Linked DNA regions of Homo sapiens: region 1 is linked to region 2. The links are contacts of gene promoters, found by promoter capture Hi-C in blood cells and fetal thymus (Javierre and others, 2016). All regions are on one chromosome and are shown on one strand. The core of a region is centred on a gene start or on the middle of the fragment in contact, and the rest is flanking DNA. Distances in the headings are between cores, read along the strand shown. Region 1 has its middle 13 kb from the start of TINCR. Region 2 holds the start of KDM4B (lysine demethylase 4B).

The links. The method cuts DNA at HindIII sites, captures the fragments that hold promoters and counts their contacts. A CHiCAGO score of 5 or more calls a contact.
Region 1: a fragment that was not itself captured here is called in contact with the fragment with the promoter of KDM4B in region 2 in 1 of 17 cell types (endothelial precursors); the score reaches 5.3 in endothelial precursors.

Annotation. Positions count from the first base shown.
Region 1 is chr19:5,578,010-5,583,859 of GRCh38, reverse strand. No RefSeq gene overlaps it. Among named protein-coding and RNA genes, the nearest start is that of TINCR, 13 kb to the right of the region's middle. The HindIII fragment of the contact is 3,636 bases long and covers 1-3,433 here.
Region 2 is chr19:4,966,937-4,972,325 of GRCh38, reverse strand. It overlaps KDM4B (lysine demethylase 4B), which reads right to left and starts at 3,213. Exons shown (of 23, transcript NM_015015.3): 1 at 3,096-3,213. RefSeq lists enhancers at 650-719, 1,724-1,773 and silencers at 3,040-3,339, 3,650-3,749. The HindIII fragment of the contact is 5,018 bases long and covers 1-4,958 here.

The DNA.
Region 1 (5,850 bases), core at 366-2,865, 610 kb before region 2:
GTGGCTCATGCCTCGAATCCCAGCACTTCTGGAGGCTGAGGCGGGTAGGTCACCTGTGGTCAGGAGTTCGAGACCAGCCTGGCCAACATGGGGAAACCCCCATTTCTACTAAAAATACAAATATTAGCCAGGCATGGTGGTGGGTGCCTGTAATCCCAGCTACTCGAGAGGCTGAGGCAGGAGACTTCTTGAACCCTGGGGGGCGGAGGTTGCAGTGAGCCGAGATCGCGCCACTTCACTCTAGTCCCGGGTGAAAGAGCGAAACTCCATCTCAAAAAAAAAAAAAAAAGAAAGAAAAAGTAGAATTAAGACCTTACGAAATGTCTCCACAGCTACAAAATGTGTCAACTTCACCAATTGCTAAATTTTGTATTCATAAAGATTTCATTACATTTCAAAACAGCTCCTAGGTTAGATTTTCTTATTCCCAAGGAACTCCCAAGCCTCCACGATGATTGCCAGTCTCAAATTGCATGCATGACTCCTAGTCACATAATTTCAAAGGCAAAGTTAGAACAGGGCCTTTTGATTCCAAAAAAACCCAACAACCATAAAGTCGACGTTTAACGGGGATGCCGTGCCTTTTAACAGGTTTGCCGGATTGAGGGGCAGGGCTTCCTTGAGTCCCAGTGACCCACGGGAGAGGTGAGGCTGTTCCTACCTGGTCATACGATGGTGACAAATCAGGGTTCGGATTCTGCTCTCACTGCTGGGTGGGTTCAGACCTCAGCCCTTCAGCCATTTCTTTGGTCAGCTGGGTGGACTAGGAGAGCTTTTCTCTTTGTTTTTTGAGATGAAGCCGTGCCGTGTTGCCCAGGCTGGAGTGCAGTGGCACAATCTTGGCTCACTGCAACCTCCGCTTCCCGGGTTCAAGCGATTCTCCTGCTTCAGCCTCCCAAGTAGCTGGGATTACAGGTACCTGCCACCATGCCTGGCTAGTTTTTGTATTTTTAGTAGAGATGGGGTTTCCCCATGTTGGCCAAGCTGGTCTCAAACTCGTGGCCTCGGGTGATTCTCCTGCCTTGGCTTCCCAAAGTGCTGGGATGACAGGCATGAGCCACCACACCCAGCCACGAATTCCTTCACCTTAATCACATCTGCAAGGTCCCTTTGTCTTGGAGACCAATGTGTTCATAGGTCCCAGGGATTAGGACGTGGGCATCCTTGTCCGTCACCCTGGTGTACAACAGAATCCACTTTGGGAAGCACCTGATGTGCTTACCAGTCAAGCAAGTTAGACATCTCTAGTCCCCCTGGCCAGCCACCAATTTATATGAGGACACCTACGGACGCCACACAACATCACCAAACCCAGACATAGCCCAGTGCAGCTCCCTGGGAAACTGGAGTCAATTCCTGGGAAAGTCAAGCGCAGAAGAAGGTTCTGAGCCCGAGGGAGGCTGAGACCCGCCCAGAGGTAGCGAGCCATGGAGCTGAGGCTGCAGCCCGAGGTCCCTTCTCCTCAGCCTCCCCGGTTGTCAGGGCACCCCGTGCCGCGGTCACACGGTGGTGAAGGGATAGGTGTTTGGGGCACCAGTGAGCAAGCTGCGTACGTGAGTGTGTACATAATTTTGCACATGCGCTTGGCCTTTAGAGTTGACCCCAAGGATAACTCTACATGTCCTACAGTGCTTCCAGAGACAGCAATACTGGGCCAGAAACTGCCCCTAAATTACTCCCGGGAGCACCAAGAGCCGCTTCTCCGTACTCCTCAAATCCTCGTGAGATGCAGCTGCCCTGTGTTTGCCTCCACCTGCAAATATTGACACAGCAGCTGCCGGGTTCAGTGGAGCATAAGGTACTGAGGACCCGAGACATTGCCCTCCTGGGAGAGCTTCCTGGGTGGTCTGTGAACCAGGGCCCGGTGGCTCATGCCTGTAATCCCAGCACTTTGGGAGGCTGAGGTGGGAGGATCACTGGAGCCCAGGAGTTTGAGAGCAGTGTGGGTAATGTAGCAAGACCCCATCTGTACAAAAAAATAAAATTGGCTGGGCTGCTGGTGTACACCTGTAGTCCCAGCTACCCACGAGGCTGAGGAGGGAGGATCACTTGGGCTCAGGAGGCAGAGGCTGCAGTGAGCTGTGATCACACCACTGCACTCCAGCCTGGGCGACAGGGCTGTCTCAAAAAAGAACAGCGTGGCACTGGCTGTGACTGAGGAGACCAGCCACACATGCCCAGCCCCTTCAAATTCTGCCCCCTGCAAGAGGTCTCCTCTGACCACTGGATCAGCAGCGCCTCATCACCCTCTGCCTTGTCACACCTGCCTGTCCTCGTGGCTCTGACCACTCGCTAAAGCATTGTTTATTGTCGGCACTCTCCACCACATAAGCATCGTTGGGGCAGGCATCTGCATCTCCCCAGTGCACAGCCTTTTAAAATACAGGTTTTGGCCGGGCGCGGTGGCTCATGCCTGTAATCCCAGCACTTTGGGAGGGTGAGGCGGGTGGATCACCTGAGCTCAGGAGTTTGAGACCAGCCTGGCCAACATGGTGAAACCCCGTCTGTACTAAAAACACAAAAATTAGCCGGGTGTGGTGGTAGGCACCTGTAGTCCCAGCTACTCAGGAGACTGAGACAGGAGAATCGCCTGAACACAGAGATGGAGGGTGCAGTGAGCTGAGGTCGCACCACTGCACTCCAGCCTGTGTGACAGAGCGAGACTCCATAAAAAAAAAAAAAAAAAGCAGGTTTTGGCCGGGCACGGTAGCTCACGCCAGTAGTCCCCGCACTTTGGGAGGGTGAGGTGGGCAGATCACCTGAGGTCAGGAGTTCGAGACCAGCCTGGCCAACATGGTGAAACCCCATCTCTACTAAAAATATGAAAATTAGCTGGGCATGGTGGCGCATGCCTGTAATCCCAGCTACTAAGGAGGCTGAGGCAGGAGAATCGCTTGAACCTGGGAGGCGGAGGTTGCAGTGAGTCAAGATCGCACCACTGCACTCCAGCCTGGGAGACAGAATGAGACTCCATCTCAAAAAAATAAAAAAGTGCTTTATGCAATATCTGGCATACAGTAGGTGCATAGCAAGTGGTTGTGGTTCTTTGAATTTTTTTAGCAAGAGACAGGTCTAAACCAGGGCTTCCCACTCCTTGCCCAACAGAAATCCCTCCCCTCTGCCCTTTAAGAAATTAAGTGTGGCCCATAGACTTAGGGAAGGGGAATCGCTGGGCTCGATTTCTACTGCAGCTGTAATCTATAATGTTGCATTACAGTTTTTAAAACAAGAGGCCCCTCTTTGGCCTCTCAAATGCTGCACGCTGTGGAGTTAAGTGCTGGAAGCCACTGATGGTGTCTCTCGGCTTCTTCCAGTCTTGGAATCATAGCCACCTCGTGCCAACGAGCTGTGAAACTACTGGGGTGCCCCGTGTACCCAGCCACAGAAAACGCATATCAGGCCTCGCGGGGAGCTCGTAAAAGGCACTGAAGCTTCCCCTGCGTGTATGCTGCCGGCCACAGCAGACCAAATATTTACAGACTCAGCTGAAATGAAACCCAGCAGGGTGGATCTCACAGGTGGTCCGGGAAAGGTCCCCATTGCTGGGGAAACAGTGCACAGAGCAGGAAGGAAACCCACTTGGCCAAGGCCCCCTGCCAAGCAAGTCAAGATGAAATCCAGGCTCAAGAGCTGGGCTCTGAGTCCTTTGTTTTCTTGCTTATTTAGCTTAGCAAATGCTTCTTGGGTACTTACTGCGAGCAGGGCTCCATGGCAGAGATGCAGCCATGACTGAGACAAGCCTGCAGGTTCCTGTTGTCTGGGGGTGGAATGAGACTGGCTTCTTGGAGGAGGGGACTGGACAGACCTAAGCCATGAGGAGTGAAGGAGCCCCAGAAGGGCTTTCCAGAAGAAGAAACAGGGTGTGCAGAAGCCCCCAGGAAGGAAAGGACACGCCTCCCACCCTTTTTTTTGTTTTTCGGAGCGATGGGATCTTGCTCTGTTGCCCAGGCTGGAGTACAACGGCGCGATCATAGCTCACTGCAACCTTGAGCTCCTGGAAGTAATCCTCATGCCCCAGCCTCCTGAGCAGCTGGGACTCCAGGCATGAGCCATGCACCTGGCCTAGCACCTTTGAGCAACAGAGCAGGCAGGAACATGGGGACCTGGGGCCGCAGTGGCTGATCAGGGATGGGACCACCAGCCTGTAGGGTTTCTTCTTCTTGAGAAGAAGAGAGCCAGCCCTCCTCGAAGGGTTTGAGGGTAACACTCAAATGTCTCTCTTCAGGCCTTTCCTTGCTTGAGATCCAAATCCTCACTGTCCCCGTGTCCCCGGTCTCCCCATGCCATGACCACTTTCACCTCCAGGAAGCTAGAACCAGCCAGCCCTGGGGAAGGAGGGGCGAGCCACACTGGACTCAGGGCCCTGGCTCTGTTTGGACAAAGACACAGCAGGGGGGGCCACAAGCCGCCTCCAGTTTTGGGATCCCTGCTCCAAAGACCAGAACATAGGAGCAAGCAGGCTGGCAGAACTGGTGGGCACAGCTGGGCATGGTGCCTCACACCTGTACTCCAAGCACTTTGGGAGGCCGAGGCAGGCAGATCACTTGAGACCAGCCTGGTCAACATGGTGAAACTCCATCTCTACTAAAAACACAAAAATTAGCCAGGTGTGGTGGTGCACGCCTGTAATCCCAGCTACTCGGGAGGCTGAGGCAGGAGAATCACTTGAATCTGGGAGGTGGAAGTTACAGTGAGCTGAGATCACACCACTGCACTCCAGTCTGGGCAACAGAGCGAGACTCTGTATTAAAAAATAGATATAATTAGCCAGGCACGGTGGCTCATGTCTGTAATCCCAGCACTTTGGGAGGCTGAGGTGGGTGGATCACCTGAGGTCAGGAGTTCGAGATCAGCCTGGTCAACATGGCAAAACCTTGTCTCTACTAGAAATACAAAAATTAGCAGGGCATGGTGGCGCATGCCTGTAATCCCAGCTACTCGGGAGGCTGAGGCAGGAGAATCTCTTGAACCTGGGAGGTGGAGGTTGCAGTGAGCTGATGTTGCACCACTGCACTCCAGCCTGGGCGACAGAGTGAGAGTCCGTTGGGTATCACACCCCCACTCACTCAGCCCCTGGCTGAGTCATAGCAGGTGGACACTCATGGGGACCAAGACGCCGTTGAGGGACGGGACCCAAGAGATGCGGCTATAAGTGGGGTGTGCTGGGTCACTGGAGATGCCTGGCTTGCTTATTGACGAAGCCTCAGGCTCTGGAGGTGGGGGAAGCCGTGGGGGAGGGAAGGGGAGAAAAAAGAGGGATGGAGAGATAAAGACACCGAGACACAGAAAAAGAGAGATTCAGGGAGAAGAGAGACAGAGACTGAGACACAGAGTGAAACAGACGCACACACACAGGGACGCAAATAGACAAAAGCAGAAACAGATGAACCCAGGACCTGCACAGATGTGGATCTGCACTTGGGGCAGCCGGGCCCTCTACTCCATGTGCCCACTAGGTGGCGCCCAAGAGCCACGCTCTGCAACGCAGCCGACCCGGTTGGGCCCCTCCTGCCGCGGAAGCCCCCATCTCTCTGCCCGCCCAGCGTTTCCCCCACGGGCCCAACACCACCTTTGTGGGAGGCCCTGGAGGCGCAGGTGGAGGCTGGAATGGGGGCTTCCTCAAGGGTCGAGGGTCTCCAGAGCCTCCCAACCCGGCCCCCGGTAGGCGAAGGCCCTGGTTGTGTCTGTGCTTCTCTTAGAGTGAGTTTGTATTGGTCTCAGGAGTGGACGTGCCTGCTTCTGTCTTGGGGTGTGGATCTGGTGAATCTCCGTGTGTGAGGCTTAAGGCCGTGTGTCTCTCTGTGTGCATCTGTGTTTGTCATGGGGCGTGTGTCCGTGTGTGTCTGTGTT
Region 2 (5,389 bases), core at 1,964-4,463:
ACCCATTTTACAGAGAAGAAAGCAAGGCCCAGAGAGGGGAAGTGACTGCCTCAGAGGAGGGATCTGAATCCAGGTCTCTCCAACTCTGAAGCCTGTGTGGGGCATGGGACAGAGGGCAGAGATCCAGAGACGTCGTCAAGACCACCAGATGAGAACGGAGCCCAGGCTGGGCCCCTGCTCTTCTGTCCGGCATCCTAAGCCAGGAACAGAGACCCCTGGGGCAGGAAGGGGGAGGGCTGTGGCATCTGAAGACCCCATCGAGCTGCCTCATGGCAGGTCCCTGGAGCTGAGCCAGGAGCCTAGGGTGAGGCTGTGGATGAGGACGGCCGATCTGTCATGGCGGTGACCAGTGCAGGCCTGCGGAGCTCCCCCCGCCCCGAGCCCCCACCCTGTTCATCTGCTCTCCGTCCCCTCCTGCCCAGTGGGCTCCGAAAGATTTAGTGCCCCCGATCTGCTTTGTCACTGAGCAAGTGACTGGGTCAAGGTCACCCAGCTCTGAACCCCCAATTCCGCTCCCCGATCCAGGGAACAAAGCCACCTACAAATGCACCTCAGGCCCTCAACAGCCTCGCCTCCTCCTGCCTGCTCCCTGAGCTGGGCCCGAGGGCAGCGGACTGCACACCACCATTCCAGCTGTGACCAGGCCCTGGGCAGCCAGCTCACCCTTTCCCCCACTACACTCTAAACCCACAGGAGCCAGGGACTCCTCCCAACCTGTCCCGGCATGGCACTCGGCACTGGAAACCTAGCAGCCCCAGACCAGGTGAACGCATGACCCCAAGGCACGTCCCCACAGGTGTCAGATGGAACCGAGGACAGATGGCTTCCCCAGAGCTGAGGCTCCTCCCCGGCTCATCAGGGAGTGGGTGGGGCATAGGACAAACGGGCAGGAAACCAGCAGAGGAGACAGAGAAATTAGGAATTAAAGTACAGGCAGAGTGGTCAGGTGGGAGAGAAGGACACAGAGGACGGCCCCTGGCCACCCCAGAGGGCTCCTGCAGGACGGGACAGGGACTGAAGACAGGGCAGGAGGCTGAGGAAGGGTCTCTTCCACGAGACAGAAAAGTACAACAAAGGCCAGGCGGGGTGCTGTGCGGTGGCTGATCAGCTATACCTTTAAGCGCCAGCAGTTAACATCTTGTTAGCAGCCCCCTCCCCAAAGAGGAAAGGGTTAGAAAATGCGAGCAAACGGATTGTTACTAAGACATATATATTTCAGGTCTCAGCAACTAAACACACACGTGCACACGCAGGCACCCGCAGCTCCTGACACAGTAGACGCTTCCACCAAAACAGCCTGTACACAGACACCCGTCTGTGCGGCAGAATCTCCGTTACCCCCTTTTCCTCCCCAGCGGTGACCTCCTCTAGGCCAGGACAGTCTGACCCGTCCTGGTGTCGCCGGCTCAAGGAGGGGGAGCGCCCGGACCTGCCAGGTGTCCAATCAGACACACGGAGACGAGGCTGGCAAGTCCCAGAAATCCTCGGCTCAGACAGAAGTTGACTCTACCACGGCTTTACGCTCCGACCTTCAGGGTTTCAAAACATAAACTGCAAAGCGGAGAGAGGATGCCCACTGCTTCAGCAGGGGCTGCAGGAGAAGGCTGACCCCGTGTGTTGACAAACCCTCCTGGTGGCTCATAAGGAAGCTATTATTGGAGAATTAGGGGAGTCATTAGCTCCCATAACGGCAGTGATAAAAGCCCATAGGAGTCGTCTAATGAGCCTGCTTTAGGACTGGTGCTGTTTTTAGGAGCATTCTCCAGCCCGGGGACATTCTGATAAATGGCCATTGAGGCAGAGGACTGGGGCAGGGCACCGATCCCTTGAATTCAGTCCAGTATCCAGAGATCCCAAGACAGTGCAGGCACCCGGTGGGACCCAAAGGAACTTGCTGAATACACGCCCCAGCCAGAAACACATGGAAAAAGACGCTCTTCACATATGACAGGATCACTAGGCTCCACGGAGCTGAACCACCTTCTCACTAGTTTCACAACTCGGGGAACACTTCCTCACAGGGTGCTGGTAAATTATTAAAACAGAAGCATCCTCCCCCAAGCAAACAGATGGGATGCACCCAAAAGCAGTCCATGCCTCCACTGCCCCCAGGGGCGGAAAACATGCCCCTTAAAACCTTCCACCGTGCCCAGGTGGACAGAGTCCCCCGTCCTGCCTGATTGTCATGGCCACCACTGAGCGCAGACCTGGGCCCTGGCAGACCCCAGGTCAAGCAGATTTCAGAGCGAGTCCGTCCCCAGCTCCCAGGGGGATGTCCACGGGGGACACAGAAAAGGGGTCTCGGCGGAAGCAACTCCTCAATTCATTTCTCTAGAGCAGGGGCTTCGTTCGAGATGGCGATCAGGCTGGAAGGGGGAGGGACGGAGAGACTCGTGGAGGCTGCCGTTGCATAGCAAGATGATTTTTTTCTAAAATCCAGATTGCATATGCTTATGGCGGGGTGGGGGTTTCGGGTACGTACAGGGGGGCAAGTTTGGAAGCTACCAAGGCATAGCAGGTTGACCGGAGGTGGGGGCAGTGCAGGAGCAATGATAGGCATTTAGGGGGCATCCCTGGGTGTCCAGCTGGGGGGCTTCCCCTTAGCCCCCCTGGCGCCCAAAGGGCCAGAAACGCAGGCGGGGGTTACCCAGGGGCTGGGGTCTTTTTCCTTTTTCTTGCTTTCTTTCAAAAATAATAATAATAATAGGCCGAGGCTTGTCCCGGGTGATAAAAGGGCCCGGCCGGGGCCACCCACGCTGTCATCTTTTGTGCGGGGCGCCGGGGCCGTCTGTGCCCAGCCCCCGCGCGCCCCCGGCCCGGGAAGGGGCCCCCGCTCCCGCCCCTGGGCGCGCCCCGCCATTGTCCGGCCCCGCCGCCCCCGCCCGAAAACCAGCGGGCGCCCCCGGGCCGGGCGGTTAACGCCCCAACCGCCCCGCCGGCCCGGACAAAGCGCGAGGCCCGGCCCGAGCAGGCCGCGCCCGAGGCCTGGGCCTCGAGTCCCGGGCGCGCCCGCAGCCCCGAGCCGCGACGCGGGGGCGGCCATGGCGGCGGGGTCCGCGCTCGGACACGGCCGGGCGGCCTCCCCGTGGGCTCACCTGAGGCGGCGTGCGCGGCCCGGTCCGGGAGCAGCGGCGCGCTCTCCCCCGCCCTCGGCGTCGCACCCCCAGGCCCCGCTCGGGCCGGGCCCCGCTCGGTTGCTGGCGACCGAGCCCTCCGCAAGCGCTCGCGGGGGGGCTTATAAGGCCGCGCGCCAGCTCCGCCCCGACTGCCATTGGCTGCCGGATCCACGCCCGAGCGCCCATTGGCCGGAGCTGACAGCTCCGCCCCTCCCCTCCGCCGGGCCCATCAACACCGCACGGCCCGCCCACCGCGCGCCGCGATTGGGCGGGGACAAACGCCGGCCTCGCCTCTTCATTGGCAGACCGGCGGGGACACGCCGGCGCCCACCCACGTGCCCGCTGACCGGCTCTGTTCTCATTGGAGGGGGCGCACGCCAGCCAAGGCTGCCGCGACCAACCCGACGGCAGCTGGGCCTTGGATTGACAAGGGAGCCTCAGGGCCCGCCCGACGACCGCACAGAGAGGAGCCAGTATTGGCTTGAGGGGCCAGCCCGAGGCGCGGACAGGCTGGGGCAGGTGCCAATCACTGCCCGCAAGCTCCGGGCCCCGCCCTGGTTATCAGGCGGCGGCTGAGTACGTGAGACCCAGCACAGCATCAGCACCGGCCGGGAACGTGCAGGCTGGAGGTTCGAAACCCGTGGCCGGAATGTGGGCTTAGCGTTCCCCAATTTGCAAAGTGCCAAGCAAGGAGACATAGCGATCCGTTTTGCAAAGGAGGAGAACCGAGAACATAGGGTAAAGCAGCAAGAGCCTCCACCCCGCCACCGTAGGTCTATTCCCATCACAATCAACAAACCTTTGCCAAGGGGCAAGGCCTTCGGAATAGTTAGGGTCCCTCTCCCCGAGTTCCCTAAAATGTATGGGAGAGAATGAGCTTTGGTGCTTTCTGACCTGGATTCAAAGCTAAGCCGGGCCCCATGCCTCACTGTGGTTGACCTCCAGCAAAGTAACCTCGCTGAGTCTGTTTCCAACTGTGCAATGGATATGATGGTAGTGGCCACACCCCGTCTACCCGCCTCTTGAGAATGTTGCAAGGATTAAGTGGGATGAGGCACGGAGAAAGATTTGACCCTGTGACTTCACAAAATGAGCATTCATTGTGTACTGGACCACGCAGGGGTGTGAGGCATGCCCCCATTTGGAGTGGCAGGAGTGTAAATTGGGCAATTTGACATTTTCTAATAACATTCTAAGTGCATCCACCACCCGATAACCCAGCCAGCAGTTCTTCCTGGAGGTGATGTACCCAGAAAAAAGGTCTGGAGCTTACACAATTCAAGAATGCCGGCGGCAGGGCTGTCTGCAACTGTTTCCAATGTTTTGCACTAACTATCCATCAGTGGGGGATTAGAGAAGTAACTTAATAGCAATCAGTACTCTGGAATACTTACTATGTAGCAATTGAAAAGGAGGCCAGGCCCGGTGCTGTGGCTCGGGCGACTCACACCTGTAATCCCAGCACTTTGGGAGGTCGAGTCGGGTGGAACACCTGAGGTCCAGAGTTCGAGACCAGCCTGGCCAACATGGCAAAAACCTGTCTCTATTAACAAATACAAAATTAGCCAGGCATGGTGGCGCATGCCTGTAATCCCAGCTACTCCAGAGGCTGAGGCGGAGGTTGCAGTGAGTCGAGATCACTGCACTTCAGCCTGGGCAACAGGGTGAGACTCTGTCTCAAAAAAGGAAAGAAAAGAAAAAAGAGAAGGCCGATCTGTTTGCAAACATGAAATATCTCCCAACCGCTGAGCTAGGGACAGTGGTCCAGAATCCTGTACTCAATAAAATAAATATGGAAACACACACAGAAACCGGTATCATGAGGTTAAGAGCACACAAGCTTGTCAATGCACAGAAAAAGGTACTCCTAAACTGAAGAAACGAACTTAATCCTTGGGGAGAGAAGGAAAGCTGCACACTGGTAAAAAGAGAAGTCAAAGGAGAATTTAAGAAGCTCTGGGTGTTTTAAATTCTTATGGGACCATATTCATATATTCCACATGGAGTTGAGATTTAATTTCAGGTCATGCCTGGAATCGCAGCACTTTGGGAGGCTGAGATGGGCAGATCACTTGAGCCCACGAGTTTGAGAACAGGCTGGGCAATATAGCAAGACTCCGTCTCTACCAAAAAAATTACAAAAGTTGGGCGTGGTGACACGCGCCTATAATCCCAGCTATTCGGGGGCTGAGGCGAAAGGATCACCTGAGCCCGGGGAAGTGGAGGCTGCAGTGAGCCGTTGATTACACCACTGCACTCCAGCCTGGGTGACA